3 separate regions of the Homo sapiens genome follow, and all the other regions are linked to region 1. The links are contacts of gene promoters, found by promoter capture Hi-C in human tissues and cell types (Jung and others, 2019). All regions are on one chromosome and are shown on one strand. Each heading gives the region's core, a stretch centred on a gene start or on the middle of the fragment in contact. The rest is flanking DNA. Distances are from core to core; before and after follow the strand shown. Region 1 holds the start of DPY19L3 (dpy-19 like C-mannosyltransferase 3). Region 2 has its middle 18 kb from the start of ZNF536-AS1. Region 3 holds the start of LOC124904794 (a long non-coding RNA gene).

Evidence for each region. The method cuts DNA at HindIII sites, captures the fragments that hold promoters and counts their contacts. A contact is called where the count stands out against the background at its distance.
Region 2: a contact is called between a fragment that was not itself captured here and the fragment with the promoter of DPY19L3 in region 1, in 1 of the 25 tissues and cell types used here (dorsolateral prefrontal cortex).
Region 3: a fragment that was not itself captured here is called in contact with the fragment with the promoter of DPY19L3 in region 1 in 1 of the 25 tissues and cell types used here (dorsolateral prefrontal cortex).

Annotation. Positions count from the first base shown.
Region 1 is chr19:32,403,795-32,408,731 of GRCh38, reverse strand. It overlaps DPY19L3 (dpy-19 like C-mannosyltransferase 3), which reads right to left and starts at 2,962. Exons shown (of 19, transcript NM_001172774.2): 1 at 2,823-2,962; 2 at 376-515. The coding sequence starts at 478. DPY19L3-DT (DPY19L3 divergent transcript) reads left to right here and starts at 3,193. Exons shown (of 3, transcript NR_046201.1): 1 at 3,193-3,741. RefSeq lists silencers at 2,581-3,330, 3,361-3,410. The HindIII fragment of the contact is 7,870 bases long and covers 1-4,937 here.
Region 2 is chr19:30,649,944-30,654,880 of GRCh38, reverse strand. It overlaps a transcript of ZNF536 not described here. Among named protein-coding and RNA genes, the nearest start is that of ZNF536-AS1, 18 kb to the left of the region's middle. The HindIII fragment of the contact is 7,132 bases long and covers 1-4,937 here.
Region 3 is chr19:31,360,958-31,365,894 of GRCh38, reverse strand. The region is part of intron 1 of TSHZ3-AS1 (TSHZ3 antisense RNA 1); the gene reads right to left. It overlaps LOC124904794 (a long non-coding RNA gene), which reads right to left and starts at 1,614. Exons shown (of 2, transcript XR_007067377.1): 1 at 1-1,614. The HindIII fragment of the contact is 4,270 bases long and covers 1-4,247 here.

The sequences.
Region 1 (4,937 bases), core at 1,713-4,212:
TCACTACCTTAATGGAAACTCACCCAAGGTAAGGTTGCCTGGTGTAAATAGTATACACGACCAGAAAAATTAGAGAGAGACTAAAATCTGGGGTGTGGGTGGGGGGACCATTACTCTAGAGAGTCAAAGGATGAGATTGGAAGAACCGTAAGTTAATGAACAGACAGCTGACAAACACTTCTAATCAAAGCTCTTTCATCTTTTGTCAAATCATAACTGTAAAATCAATCTAATCAAATTGCAATTAGAATATCAGGGTACTACAACAAGTTTCAATTGTTAGGTCCCACCAAATTTTTATCCTATTGGAGAGTGACATTTTAATATGCAGAAATAAAAGCAACCCAAATTGCTGCTTTAGTTTAAATCACCTACCAGATGGCAATTTATTTTCCAACTTCACATTTTCTTCTTGGGCTGGAAAGTCTTCAGAAACTTCTGTGGCTCTTATTTCTCTTCTTTGCCGGATGGACATCATGATGTCAGACTTACATGCATTGTTCTCCAAATCACTCCTAGATAGCAATAAACAGGCCATCAACGTCAGTGCCTTCTCCCCAACACACCCCGTGCTCATCCATGCTGAAATGCCTTTACTTATGCCATTTTCCCTCTATTAGCATGCCCTCCCTTTTTTTTTCTTCCCCCCAAGACAGGGTCTCACTGTCACTCAGGCTGGAGTGCAGCGGCACCATCACGGCTCACTGTAGCCTCTACTTCCACAGGCTCAGGTGATCCACCTCAGCCTCCCGAGTATCTGGACTACAGGCATGTGCTACTACACCTGGCTAATTATTTTTTGTAAAGATGGGGTCTCCCTATCTTGCCCAGGCTGGTACTGAACTCCTGGCCTCATGCGATCCTCCCCGCCTTGGACTCCCAAAGTGCTAGGATTACATGAATGAGCCATTGTGCCCAGCCTGCCCTCGATCTTGCCATCTAAATCGTTGCTGGCCTTCAAAGCTACACTCAAAACACAATTCAAATATTTATTCAACTCAATCATATTTATTCATGAAGCATGTGCTCTACAGCAGGCCCTGCCAGGAGTCAGGAATACAGGTAAGCAACACAAACGAGCCACTGCTTTTCTTCCAGAACATCTTGGGACATTCCAGTTCCGGCTGATCTTCTCCCTCCCTGAGCCATAGCAGTTACCACGCAATGCGTCACGTAACTACACAGTTGTATATTATTTTCTACTTCCATAGGCGGTAGTAGGTCTTCAGTACCTCCCACAGAAGTGGCCACGTGGGAGATACTCCATAGTAAATGTGTTGACAACCGGATTTTGAAGAATTAAAATATTGTTTTGTCTCAGGTACCTGAATTTTAACACCAGTGTTCTATAAAACAATTCACACTGGCAGCTTCAGGAATACGCCTCAGTGGTGATGACTGCGGGGGTGTGCCAATCAGGGCAGCTGCTATCCCAGGGAGCGTCGGTGGGAGTAATGGGTGGGGGGGAGCAGGAGCCTGGTTTGGCAGCAGCAAGTGGGAGGCGGGGGAGTGGTGGCAGTGAGTAAGCGGGTTCCAGTCCTCCAGAACATCTTGCTTCACTCCTCTGAATAATGAACAGCCTCTTACTAATTATTTCTTAAATGTGACTAGTAGCCTGACATGATTGTTTCCACAGTTTATTAATTCCTAAGGGTAACTTGCTCTACAGAACAAACCAACTAACATTATACAATTCATGTATTCATTCATACCAAAAAAAAAAAAAAAAGCAGGAAGCCAGATTTAAGTACTGTGCTTTCAAGCACTGGAAATGGAGAATCTGGAACAGAGAGGGAGAAGAGGAGTGTTTAACAAAGTCCTACAGCCACAGATGGGCTTATCCCCCATGTGACCTCATCCTAGAGTCCTCCCTAAGTGTGAGAGGACTTTTTTAAACAATTCATATATTCTAATATGTTAAGGCAGAAAACCAACACATATTTAAGTACCAATTATGTGTCAGGCACTGCAACAGTCCCATGAACTAAGAAAAAAAGTTCCTCCATCAGATCAAAAGGAATGCCATTGTAAACAACTGAAAAGGGACCAGAAGCGATTCTTTATTAATAAGGACGACTAGCGCTAGCCGGGCGAGGCGGCTCATGTAATCCCAGCGCTTTGGGAGGTTGAGGCAGGAGGATGACTTCAGACCATGAGTTTGAGACCAGCCTGGGGAACAGAGCGAGACCCTATCTATACAATAAAATAGCCAGGCTCGGTGGTGCATGCCTGTGGTCCCAGCTACTCCAGAGGCTGAGGTGGGAGAATCGCTTGAGCCCAAGAGTTCGAGGTTGCAGTGAGCCGTGATAACGCCACTGCACTCCAGCCTGGGCGAGACAGCGAGACCCCTGTCTCTAAAAAATAAAAATAAAAAAGCCTAGCGCTCTAGTGAGCATCCCCTGGACGAGGCAGGCACCGGGTCCGCTTACCTACGCGCCACGCCCCTGCACACCTGGCGTCCCCATCAGGTAGGTCTCCAAGGACAGGGGCAGCCGGGAAGTTCAGGCACGCGCCCCAGCTCTCCCAAGACCGCGAGCGGCCGCCGGGGTCGCAGCCCAGGCCCTGCCTCGCCGCACGGCCGACGAGCAGAAGCCGCTCCGCAAACTTGGTCCTTCCGGAGCCCAGCCCGGCCCGCGTCCCGGCAGACACTCCCGCGCTCCGCCCCTCCCGACGCCCCGACGCCGCGGCCGCGCCCCCCGACTGCGCCACGCGGCGGGGAGGGGCGGCCCCAGGGGCTCGGGGCTGTAGCCGAGGGTTCCGCCGGCGCCCGCCCGCCCTCTCGGTAGACCCTCGCCCGCGCGTCCCGGCGCGCCGCCACAGACCTGCGGCCTCAGCCGTCCTCACGCGCGGCTCCGGGAGGGGAAGGAGGCCGACGGGGCTAGGCGGGAACGGGGCCGCGCCACGGGCCGCAGCGCGCCGCGGGTACAAGGAGGGCAGAACCGCCGCGGAGCTTTGTGGAAATGAGGGGCTGGGGGGCGTCAACAGCCCCGGGGAGGGGGCGCGCCGGAGAGGCCGGGCGGCTGCCCCCGCGCCCATAGGCCCCGGGAGCTGTTCGTCAACACTAGGCCCCGCCTCCTCCCGCGGTTCCCCGCCTCGTCTCGTGCTGCGCTGGCCGGAAGGAAGCGGCACACTTCCGCTTGCCTGGTCCGCATTGAGTCCGGTCTGTTCCGGAGACTCTGAGCGCGGCCGCGGAGCTGCAGTGGCGGGGAGTGGGGTGCGGATCTTGTGTTTGCGCACGCAGTCGCCGGCCACCTCAGGCCGGAGCTAGAGATACGGCTCGGGATAGGAGGGCCCGGCGGCTCTGAGGCAGGTTCGCCTCGAGCCGCACGGCCCGGAGCAGCGGCTCCGCGGTGGTCCCCGGGGCTTGAGAGGGGTGCGGGCCTGGGAGCCCCTGAGGGCCTGATTTACGGAACTCCCCCTCCTTCCTCCTTTCTGCCGTTCCCTGCTCTGTGGCGGATGCGCAGGGATCAGTAGGGACGGCAGCAGTAGGGCCACTCGGGCCTGCCCCGCTTCCCGCATTGCCCGGTTTGGCGCGCCGCCTCCGGGCCTTGGCAAAGCCCCAGCGCCCGATTGTCACTGACCAGTGCTTGGAAGTCCTTTACCGACTGCCCGTCAGCGTCCCGCGGAGAGGATTTTGCGTCTCCAAAGACGCCCCTCTTCCGAAAACAGGCTCCTCTGTGTTCTCAGTCGGGTATATTTTTCTGTCTCCAAACTAGATTGGCAGCCGTTTTTTGAGAGCAGGTACTGACTGTGCTTTATTTCTAGATACTTTTCTTAGTCACACCACGGAAAACACTAGGTGGAACCTTTTTTAAAATTATTTTTTACAGGTGAGGCTCTCAGTCTGTCGCCCAGGCTGGAGTGCAGTGGTGCTATCACGGCTCACTGCAACCTCGGCCTCCTGGGCGCAAGCGATCCTCCCGCCTCAGCCTCCGGAGTAGCTGGGACCACAGGCTCGCACTACTATGCCCAGCTAATTTTTAAATTTTTCGTAGAGATGGGGGTCTTGCTTTGTCGTCCAGGCTGGAGTGCAGTGGTGTGATCGTAGCTCACTGCAACCTTAGTCCCCTGTGCCCAAGTGACCCTGCTTCCTCAGCCTCCTGAGTAGCTGAGATTCATTTTAATTTTTATAGTGATGGGGTCTCGTTGTGTTGACCAGTCTGGTCTAAAACTCCTGAGTTCAAGCAGGCCTCCTGCCTCAGCTTCTCAAAATGTTGGGATTACAGGCTTTAGCCACTGCAGCGGGCCCATCAAACGTTGTATTTGTCAGTACATAATTTACATGTTAATTGATTTTTGTTAAAGGGATGGCCATCTGGGACCTCCACCCGTGAAAAGGCGGCTCATTGGTCTGACTCCAACACTAAATTACGCCATCCAGGAAGCCTTTCCTAGTCACCTCTGTTGGAGATCGTCCTCCTTTGTGTGTCGGTTGTTAGTAAAGAGCACACGTTCTGTGGAAAGATGTTGAGGTATCTGCTGGATGGCTTTGATAGAAACAAATGTCAGCTGTTTTTTCAGATGGCATTTGTCTTGTTTCAGCCTGGTTGTTGGTAGCTTTTCTGTCGCCTGGCTTGAGGGCAAGGACTGTATGTTTATTTTTCACGTTAAGATGCCTTTATGTGCATGTGTCTGTTTCATGAATACATAGGTGAATTGAGTTCCCCTTAAATAGGATTTCCCTCTTATTTTATAGGTTTTTTTTTTTCTCTCAAGTTGTTTCACTCTGGGGGAAATGTGACCATTGTGAAATATCATCGCTTAGTTAAAAAGAAAGTAGAATTCAGCAGTAGCTGCTTTTTTTAATACTATGAAAAGACATTCCTAAGCAAGATGAAGCTTTGAGACTTTTCCTAAGTAGGACCTACTGCTGAGAGTAAGTCTTGGGGAGAATAAGCCAATTAAGAATGAGTCTTTGGTTCTGATAAAGTAACCAT
Region 2 (4,937 bases), core at 1,435-3,934, 1.8 Mb after region 1:
CAACGCTGTAAGCACGGTGGCTTTGCCCAGCATGGGGGGGTGTGTGGGGGGTGGGTGGCAGACACAGCTGAAGTGTAGAGCTCAGCAGAGCCTGGCTCAAGCCCAGCCCTCAAATTTACCTAAGCCACCAGCCTTCCAGGGCACTGGGTTCCTGGTCTTCATGGAGAAAAAAAACAAGCCTCAGTCAGTGCCCCAGTAGCACTGAGACCCATTACAGCAACAATCGCCCGGTTAAAAGAACTAAAGACCTAGATAGCCACCGCCCAGGGAAGCAGAAAGGTCTTTTTGGTTTCACCTTTATTTCATCACTCAACCAGGTGCAGTCATGGAGAAATCTTTGAATACAAGCATTCCACAGTTCTTTCGCTTTAGGAACCACGAATGTTGACTTAGGCTGTGTTTTGCCACATCTGACTCCAATGCAACCCACCAGTTTCCAGGAGAGACTGGGGATGGGGTGAATAAGGGGGGTGGTGAGGGGTGAATAAGGGGGGTGGTGAGGAGTGAAGAGGGCCAAGTGGGAAGATGATCAGATGATTTCATGCACTAATGAACATTCCAGATTTTGTGATGATCCCCAATACTGCCCACCTAGGAACTGGGTGATTACTATGCCGGGCGGTCACACCTGTTGGATGTACCTAGGTGAAGGTCAGGCTCCCTCCCCACTGGGCCCCACGCAGCCTGGGCACCAGCCCTTGGCTCACACCTGCTGCCAGGTAGCAGCCAGGGAGACTTCTTATGCAGCCCGCTTGTTTCAAAGGAGCGTCGGCGACAGGGAGGGGAGGATCTCAAGACCTTTAATTAGCTGGGAATTGCACCCTCTCTAGTGGCTTGCTTGTGAGAACTAGAGAGCTAAGGAACAGCTCCTCAAAGAGGAAGATGGCACTTGCCAGAAGGCAGAGCTAAAGCACGCAGGTGAGTCCTGGGTTCTGATGGGGCAAGAGTTCTCCATTCCAGCAAACTCCAGACAAGAGCCAGCAGCAGGGGGGCACGCAGCCTCCACCATTGCACATGCCCTGTGTGTGCCAGGGAAGTGACCCTCTTTTCCTGGGGTCTAACTTCCCTGTCTGCAAACTCTTGTGTTATGAGCAAGGCAGGCTGGGCGGGACCCCTTGGCGGAGAAGGGAAGAGCCACACCTCCCTAAGGAAGTGACTCCCACCTCTCTTCCATCACCTGCTCCTAAGGGAGCGGCTCCCACCTCTCTTCCGTCCCCTGCTCCTAAGGGAGTGGCTCCCACCTCTCTTCCATCCTCTGCTCCTAAGGGAGCGGATCCCACCTCTCTTCTATCTCTTGTCCCAGACATTCTAGTTTTTCAAGAGAACCTGAAAGCCTGGATTTGTAAATTTAAAAAATCTTTCATTTTTAAACTGTGTGCAACCAATTGAAAGCAAAAGTGTAATATCGGACAAGTCAAACAAAACCCAACTGTGAGCTGGCTCCAGCCATCAGGCCACTCTTCAAGTTTCATTGCACTCATAGGCCTCTCAGAGGGCCCCACCTAACCTTCCATGCCCTGTGTCTGCTTGTCTCCCCGAAAGCAGATGTGCAGTGAGAAGACAGATGCTACACCCAGATCTAATGTGTGGTCTCTGGATCAGCAGCACAGCCATGACCCTGGAGCTGAAGGGCAGGATAGAGGGTCCTCCCCAGAACTACTGAGTCAGAATCTGCATCATAGCAAGATCCATGGGGATCTGGTTGCACATGAGACTTTGAGAAACACTTGTCTAAAAACAAGTAAGATAAAAGAGTCAAGCATGGTGAAACCCTCTCTCCTCTCCAGGACTTGGAAATGCCCAGATAACGGCACCTTCCCTCATGTTTAATCTTTTCCACCCAACCTTACTAGGCTAGAAATAGCCGCCATTCGGTCCTGGGAGGATCCTGGATTCTGACGGGGCATCGAGAGTGGATGCAGCACTGTCACTGGGTTCCCCGCCTTGGTGTTACAGCTTCCACTGCCCACACGGGGAGTAAGAAGTGGGTTTCCAGAATAATCCCTCTCTGGCTTCCATCGCTGCAGGAGACTTTACAGCCACCAGGGATGACCCCAAGCCCACGCCCCAGGTGAAGGTCAAGCAACCGGAACAATGCCACTCAGCTCAGATCACTAGGACAGGAAGCCCAGGAAAATTCCCTTCGGAGATCAGCCTTCTACGAAACTAGAAGTTGCATGCTACTGACTCCAGACCCAGGAGAGGCAGACACAGCACACACAGTAAAGGGGGAAAAGTTTCCTGGTGAGTCCTACAGAATGACGGGGCTCATTCACTCCTTAGAAAAGCACCTCTCTGCATCCATGGGGGCCTCAGGATGACGGTGGAAATGCCTGCTGCCATCTCAGCTTTACTTGCGTGACTCTCCCCAGATCCCCAGGCCTCGTCAGCAGAGACACATCTATCGATAATTACAGAATACACAGCTTTGGGGGGCATTTCCCTTCCATTCACGACATTTAGTGGTGTCAGTCTGAGCATAAATACAATTAGATTTGAGAGTTCTATTACAAAAGCCAATAAAGCGGGCCTCAGTAGAGATTCTAAAATTACTTAACTTTTCTTTAGAAAAATATTAAAACAGTATTATCACATCAATGAGAAGAAAAGACAGCAAGATAATAAAGTTATGTTAAACCTCCCTGTATTTACTCATGTGTGAAACAGTTATGTCTGGTCACATAATTGCAATGGTTCTGAGAAATATTTCATATTTTATAATGAACATTAAAAGAGTTTGTGGATCATTACTTTATATGAGTTCCAAAGTTATTACATAAAACCCAATAGGAATGGTTATAAATTATCAGATCCTCTGGCCTGGCCTTGGTAAACATAACATGAAGACTGAGACATTTCAGCAGACAAGATTCATGAGAAGAGGTAAAAATTCTTCCTGCATTTTAAGGAGAAAAGAAGACCAGAGTACTTGTAACCAGCTCTTAGCATTTTTGTTTCTGTTTCAAAGAAATTCTATTGAACCACTTGCTTAAGCCACACACACACAAAGCTTCTGTTAGAACAAAAGAGTAGTTCCTTTAGACACTGCCCTCATCGCCTCATTTTTCATTATCCTATCTGTGGCCTTAAGGTCACTGCCAAATTCTTGAATTTTTCAACACAGTGTGGGTTTAAAATGCTGTACTTAGCAGGCTCATACGATACCCAACAATTCTTTATTTTCAAAAGGAGATCCTCTCTTTGAAATCTGAAAATATGGCATCTTTACAGAAATTGGAGAGTTGATAACATTCTGAGGAAGTTTTCTTTTGGGGTCTGCAGAATAGGTTTGCAGACAGAATTTTAATTACAAACTATCATTTGTGAACCACGGTTAAGCATGAAATGGATGCTATTCAATTTCCTCGTGCTTATTCTCTTTTTTAAAAATAAATCACAGCATTATATTTTGTTCTGAAAAATCACACCTGGAGCTTCCCTTCCTCCCTCCCCCTTGCTTTCTGCACGGTGAAAGAGTTAAGTATGGGAAGAATAGCAGCTGGGTAAACAAAGTTAAGGACCAGAGAAGTAACGTCAAATCTTCTTGTCAGCATCCAAGAGGCACAGTGCCCAACTGGGGCGCTTTCTGATGAAACACACAGGCAACATTTGCTACCTGGTTCTAGGAAATACAGGCACCTCCCTCGCCTTTGTCCAAAGCAGCCCCGCTTCCGGTACCTGTGGAGTGAAGGTGGGCGCCCGCCCTCCAGGACCCCACCTAACCCCTCTGAGGCTCCCCTACCTGCCAACTCCCAACCTTATCCCGGGTTCTCCCCTTTATGTGGCGCAGCTGTTGGTGAGGCTTTCTCAGCAAACAGATGTCTTTTGGAGAATTTAAAGCTCTGAGTTGGAGGCCAGATTCTGACTGTACTTTGAATTATGTCTGCCTCGATCATTATGCAGTCATTCACATATATTTTAGACATCAATATTGTCTTGAAATATTCTCGAGTTCTCAATGCTATTTATATGCTTCCATTCTCTCCTTTGCTTCTGCTCTGACAGTATGCTCCAACGTCCCAGCGTCACTGACGACTTGCAGATCATTTTAACACATATTTTCATTGGTGAGGGCTTTGCCATTTCATTTAACATGATTTCTCGCTAAATTGAGCAGAGATTGACATTCTTGGGACAACAACCAACCTTGGTCATCTGTTTGGATGGAGGATTTACCCAGTTCAGTATTTTTTAAGATGAAACAGTGTCATGTGTTGCCTCTTTCTACGGACAGCAAGTTTTTACCAATGACAAAAGAAAGATTCTAAGGATGCCAATTTACAATGTGGGAGGAAAAAAAATCTCTCCTTGCTTATTTACAGAAATGCTCATCGGCTAACATATGAGATTCTGATATAATGTAAGCCCATAGGTAAAAGAAAAAGCAAACTCAAACTGTGAAAACAAAGCAAAACAAAACAAAAACAGATATTTTCAGGACTTAAAGAGTAACAAGAAAAGGAGAGAAATCTTTGGGGCTCTTTCAGCACATTTAGTTCTAGGCCAAGTTTAGGAAAACCGTCATGGCCCCTCAGAGCTTCATATGGTCACCAAGAGAGCCAATCTGATTCAATGACTACTCTTACTTTCAAACGGGGTCAGGGCTCTCACCACCACCACTCATCTATTGATCATTTTGTCCTTGTTTGCAGATCATCCCTTTGAAGTATTTTCGCAATGGCCTCTAGGTGCCGCTAACACTGCATAGCTTCAGCCTTTCTGCACAATGAAAACATTAATTTGCTATGAGATAATTTTTGACGTAAATGTAAAATGGTGCCCATTCGAACTCAGTAATGAAGCATGGTGCATTTCTGCAGCTCCTAATTTGACTAGTTAAATGACTCCATTACGTGTCTAACAGACAGAAGCAAATAATTTCTGGTCAGTTGATGTTCACTTACCCGTATCATTTTGCCCTGAAAATAAAGTCTCTA
Region 3 (4,937 bases), core at 863-3,362, 1.0 Mb after region 1:
CTCTCTTTGTCTCTTTTCTTTATAAGGCATCTTCTCTTTAACTCCCTTTGGGAAACTTCTTATAAATGAGGATTTGCATCTCCAGGGATTACTCTGGTTAGGAAAGTGTTTTATTAAAAAATATATGTTTGCCACAGAATGCTGAGTGATATAATTAGCTGGTCCCTTCTGTTTTGTTTTAAAAGGCTGTATGGCCAAGTTCTAATTAAACATATTCTCAGGACGTTTGAAATGTGAAGGTGCCTCAGAAATGGGCACTGAAATGAAAGAAGCAATGGCTCCGGGAGTATATACCAGGAAGGAGGATCTCTGGCCACGGTGCACCCGGCAGTACGGCTTCATTTCTGTCTCTGTGTGCACAGCTACTGTGGATAGAGAAGCTGGTCCCATCCAACCTTGGTGGGACACTGCCTTGTGTTCTGGAAGACTATGTGCTAAATGAGCTGATCTTGTTCCACCCAGGACAATCCAGGAAGGCTGAGGGAGTGAGTCCTGGGCTGGGATTCTGGGGACCTGGGGATGTAATAGGTTATCATCTGTAAAGTGACAATTGCTAAGGTCCCTGCCAGCTCTGACATTCTGATTGGACACATGGCTGTTTCCACTGGCTTTGTTCTTGTCACAAAGCATAAGAATGCTCCAAATGATCACGCTGCATTTTACTCTGTGACCCCAGGAATAAAATAGAAGGCTGGAGAATCTCACTGCTGTTCCTACTGAATAATGACTGGCTCAACCACGAGAGGCAGTGCTGTGCCCTCATTTGCAAAAAGAGAAGGATACTTCCCTGTCTCCCTTTTGGAGAAGCAAGTAACCTGGAAATGGAAGTATTCTGTCCCCATTCAGAAGGATGGGCTAGGAGCCCACAGGAGTTTAGAGTTTAGAAATGCCCCCTCTGAATCCTCCCGCCTGGGCACACTGTGAGACACCCTTAGTCTTTACAAAGCACTTTCATATTCACTAATGCCTCTTACAGAGCAAGCGGAGCTCTCATTTCATTGCTAGCGGGGATACAAAATGCTACACTCACTTTGGAAAACAGTTTAGCACTTTCTTGTAGCATTATACACGCTCTTACCATTGACCTAGCAATCATTCTCCTAGGTATTGAAACTTAAGAGAAATGAAAACTTATGTTCACCCAAAACCTAGAGGTGCTTGTACATCGTGGCTTTATTTGTAATCACCCCAAACTGGAAACAACCCAGTTGTCCTCTAACTGATGAATGGATAAACAGATCTGGGTACATCCATGCAAAGGAATACTTCTCAGCACTGCTAAGACACAAACTTACTGATACATCCGACAACATAGATAAATCTCAAATGCATTACACTAGATGAAAGAAGCCAGACTTGAAAGGTGACATACTCTATAATTCCACATACGCTACACCCTGGAAAAGGGAAAGCTTTAAGGTGAAGAACAGATCAGAGGTTCAGTGGTTTCTAATGCGGGGGAGCTGGGGTTAAGGGCAGGCAGATAGTTTGACTACAAAAAGGCAGCATAAAGCAGTTTTGGGGGAGTAAGAAAACTATTCTAGGCCAGGCACGGTGGCTCATGCCTATAATCACAGCACTTTGGGAGGTCAAAAAGGGTGGATCACCTGAGGTTAGGAGTTCGAGACCAGCCTGTCAACATGGTGAAACCCTGCCTCTACTAAAAAAAAAAAAAAAAAAAAAAAAAAAAAAAAAAAAAAAAGCCAGGTGTGGTGCTGGGCACCTGTAGTCCCAGCCACTCGGGAGGCTGAGGCAGAAGAATCACTTGAACCTGGGAGGTGGAGGTTGCAGTGAGCCAAGATTGTACTATTGCATTCCAGCCCCGGCGACAAGAGCCAAACTCTGTCCAAAAAAAAAAAAGAAAAAAAAGAAAACGACTCTAAATCTTTTAAAAAAAATTTTTGAGATGGGGTTTTCCTCTGTCACCCAGGCTGGAGTACAGCGGTGCAATCACAGCACACTGCAGCCTCAACCTCCCAGGTTCAAGTGATCCTCCTGCCTTAGCCTTCCAAGTAGCTGGGGCTACAGGCACATGCCACCATGCCCAGCTAATTTTTAAAAAGTTTTTTGTAAAGATGGGGTCTCACTATGTTGCTCAAGCTGATCTTGAAGTCCTGGGCTCAAGCGATGCTCCTGCCTCAGCCTCCCAATGTGCTGGGATTACAGGTGTAAGCCACCACCACACCTAGCCACTGTTCCAAATCTTGATGGCAGTGGTAGTTATGTGATTTTGTGCATTTGGCAAAACTCAGAAAACTGCATCCCAAAAAAATGCATTTTATTATATGCAAATTAAAAAATGAATTTAAAAATATCCTATAGGCTTGGCAGTAAGCATGGTGGTTGTTTGAGGTTGCCTCCTCCCCATACAGTACTCATTTTGTCCTACTAGGAGTGCTCAGTAAGGCGTCAGGGCATGGCATTCACTGCAGATGCCTCCTGCTTCATGGACGTGGCCCCTGGAAACTGAAGGGTATGACTTAGATTACATGGGTCAATGAAAAGTTTTCTATTATTCTCTTCCTTGTGGAATGTGGACAAAGAAGCAATTAGTTCCACTCGCCATTTGTGGTCCTCTTGAAATCATAAGATAAAACACCTTGAGGATGAGATTATGCCGAAAACGAAGCGAAGAGTAAGAAGGCAGAGCAAACTGGCTTCCTGTTAATATAATGGAGCCATAATCTACCTCTTGCCAATTTCCTTAAGCCAGTGTGAGCAGGGGGTCGTATTTCTCACAGATAAAAGCATCCTAGGAAATATAGTGAGAGATGTCACTGAAACATTTCTGATCTGATCCACTGTCCCAAACCAATCTGAAACAAACCTGGGCAACAGAGAACTTGGGTGAAATAATGTGAAACATATATGCAACGGATAATGGCAGGACTTGAACAGGCATCTCACAAATAAGGCATTCCCGATCACCACGCAGATATAAAAAAGGTGCTCAAACTCATTAGTAATCATGGAAATGCAAATTAAACACAGTGAGACAGCAACCACAGCCGCTAGATTAGGAAACATTACAAATACGAAGAAACATTGCTAACAATATCATAGGCTGGCAAGGATGTAGAACAATGGGAACTTTAAAAACTGCTTGTGGGAGTGAAAATTGACACAATCATCTTGGAAAACAGTTAGAGCTGCAGATATGCAAACTCTGACCAAGCAATCCCACCCCTAACTATATATAAATAGGAGATATTCCCCATGTGAGTTATGGCATAGGAACAAACATGTTCGCAGCGGCATTCTTCATGATATCCAAACAATTGGGGGGAAAAAATCCTAATGTTTTCATGAAACTAATGTTTTCATAGTCTAGAACCTTGACCATGAACCAGCAACACAAATCCACATGGTTAAGTCCGAAAAACAATGCTGAGTAAGAGAAACAAGACACAAAATAATTCATACAACATGATTTCATTTATGAACATGACCAGGTATACACATCTAAATATTAAAACTACAAAGTAAGGCAAGGAAGTGATCATTACAAAAATTAAAAATAGAGGTGGCCTCCAGGAGAGGGGACTGGAATTGGGAGGTGTCGGGGGGTTTCAGGTGACTGAGTGTTGTGTATGCAGGTATTATTTAAACCGTACCTATATGATTCACACATTCTTTTACCTTTTGATGTATCTCACACACAGAAATGTAGGAAGACAAAAATCAGATTGCAGGGAAATTCAGAAAACCAGTCTGAAGCCAGGAATGTGCAATGAATGACCCTAAATCATGCATTCTAGAGGATCTGGCCCCAAAGAGAGACTATCTGGATGGCTCTACAGAGTGGTCACAAGCTTTGCTTCGCTTCATTATCATTTAATCCAGCCAAAGGCCTGTTAAAGGCTTTTGCTTTTAAGTAAAACTTGTCTCCTTTTAAAAGTGCCAATTTTTGGTGCCCTGTAATCCCAGAACTTTGGGAAGCTGAGGCAGGTGGATCACTTGAAGTTAGGAGTTCGAGACCATCCTGGCCAACCTGTTGAAACCCTGTCTGTACTAAAAGTACAAAAATTAGCTGGGTGTGGTGGTGCATGCCTGCAATCCCAGCTATTCGGGAAGCTGAGGCAGAAGAAACGCTTGAACCCAGGAGGCAGAGGTGAGTGCAGTGAGCCGACATTGTGCCACTGTGCTTCACCCTGAGCAGCAGAGCAAGTCTCTGTCTAAGAAAAAAAAAAAAAGTACCAATTTTCTCTTTTAAGTTTAATAAGAGTGTTAATCTTATAGAGTTCTCTTACTCATTTTTTTACACAGTTTAGATCAGATTTGTTCTCTACATGAGTCTATAGAGACTTAAGGTGAGCTACTCTATCCAACTGTTCCTTATTTGCCCGGAGAGCCTTTATCTTAAAAACTCAGTCATCAGAGCAAGAAACATAGCAGACCACAACCCAATGCCTCTTGAATAAGTAAAAGTATTAACACATCTTCCAGAGTCCAGGCATAAACTTCATGCAGTTTCCTTGTAGAAAATACCTTCCTGCTCTTATTTGAGCCTATTAACTCTACTCTTATTTTAAATATAAATCTAACATGCTCAGCCATCTGTTTCCAAGAATACATCAGCTAAGGAAGGTAAAAGTGAAGAAGGACTGCTCTAGCCAGTGACAGTTAAAAAGCTCACACTGTGAAAGAAGAGAGAGGAAAAAAACCTCTCAATTCTCCTAAGCTTCTGGAGGCATTTATTGTAGAGACAGCAATGAAATGTTGAATTAGAAATTGACCCAACCCCTTCTGTAAGAAATCAGGAATAAGTACAGTGCACCATAAATAATTGCCATCAAATATTTAGCAAAATGTGTTCAAAAGAGTAAGTTTAATATCTATTTTCCTGCAAAGGATAAGTCATTTTGTGAGAAGGCTAAAAATGTCCATTGAATCCAAGTCCCAATGAGTATATGTGCATGCATAGATACAAATATGTA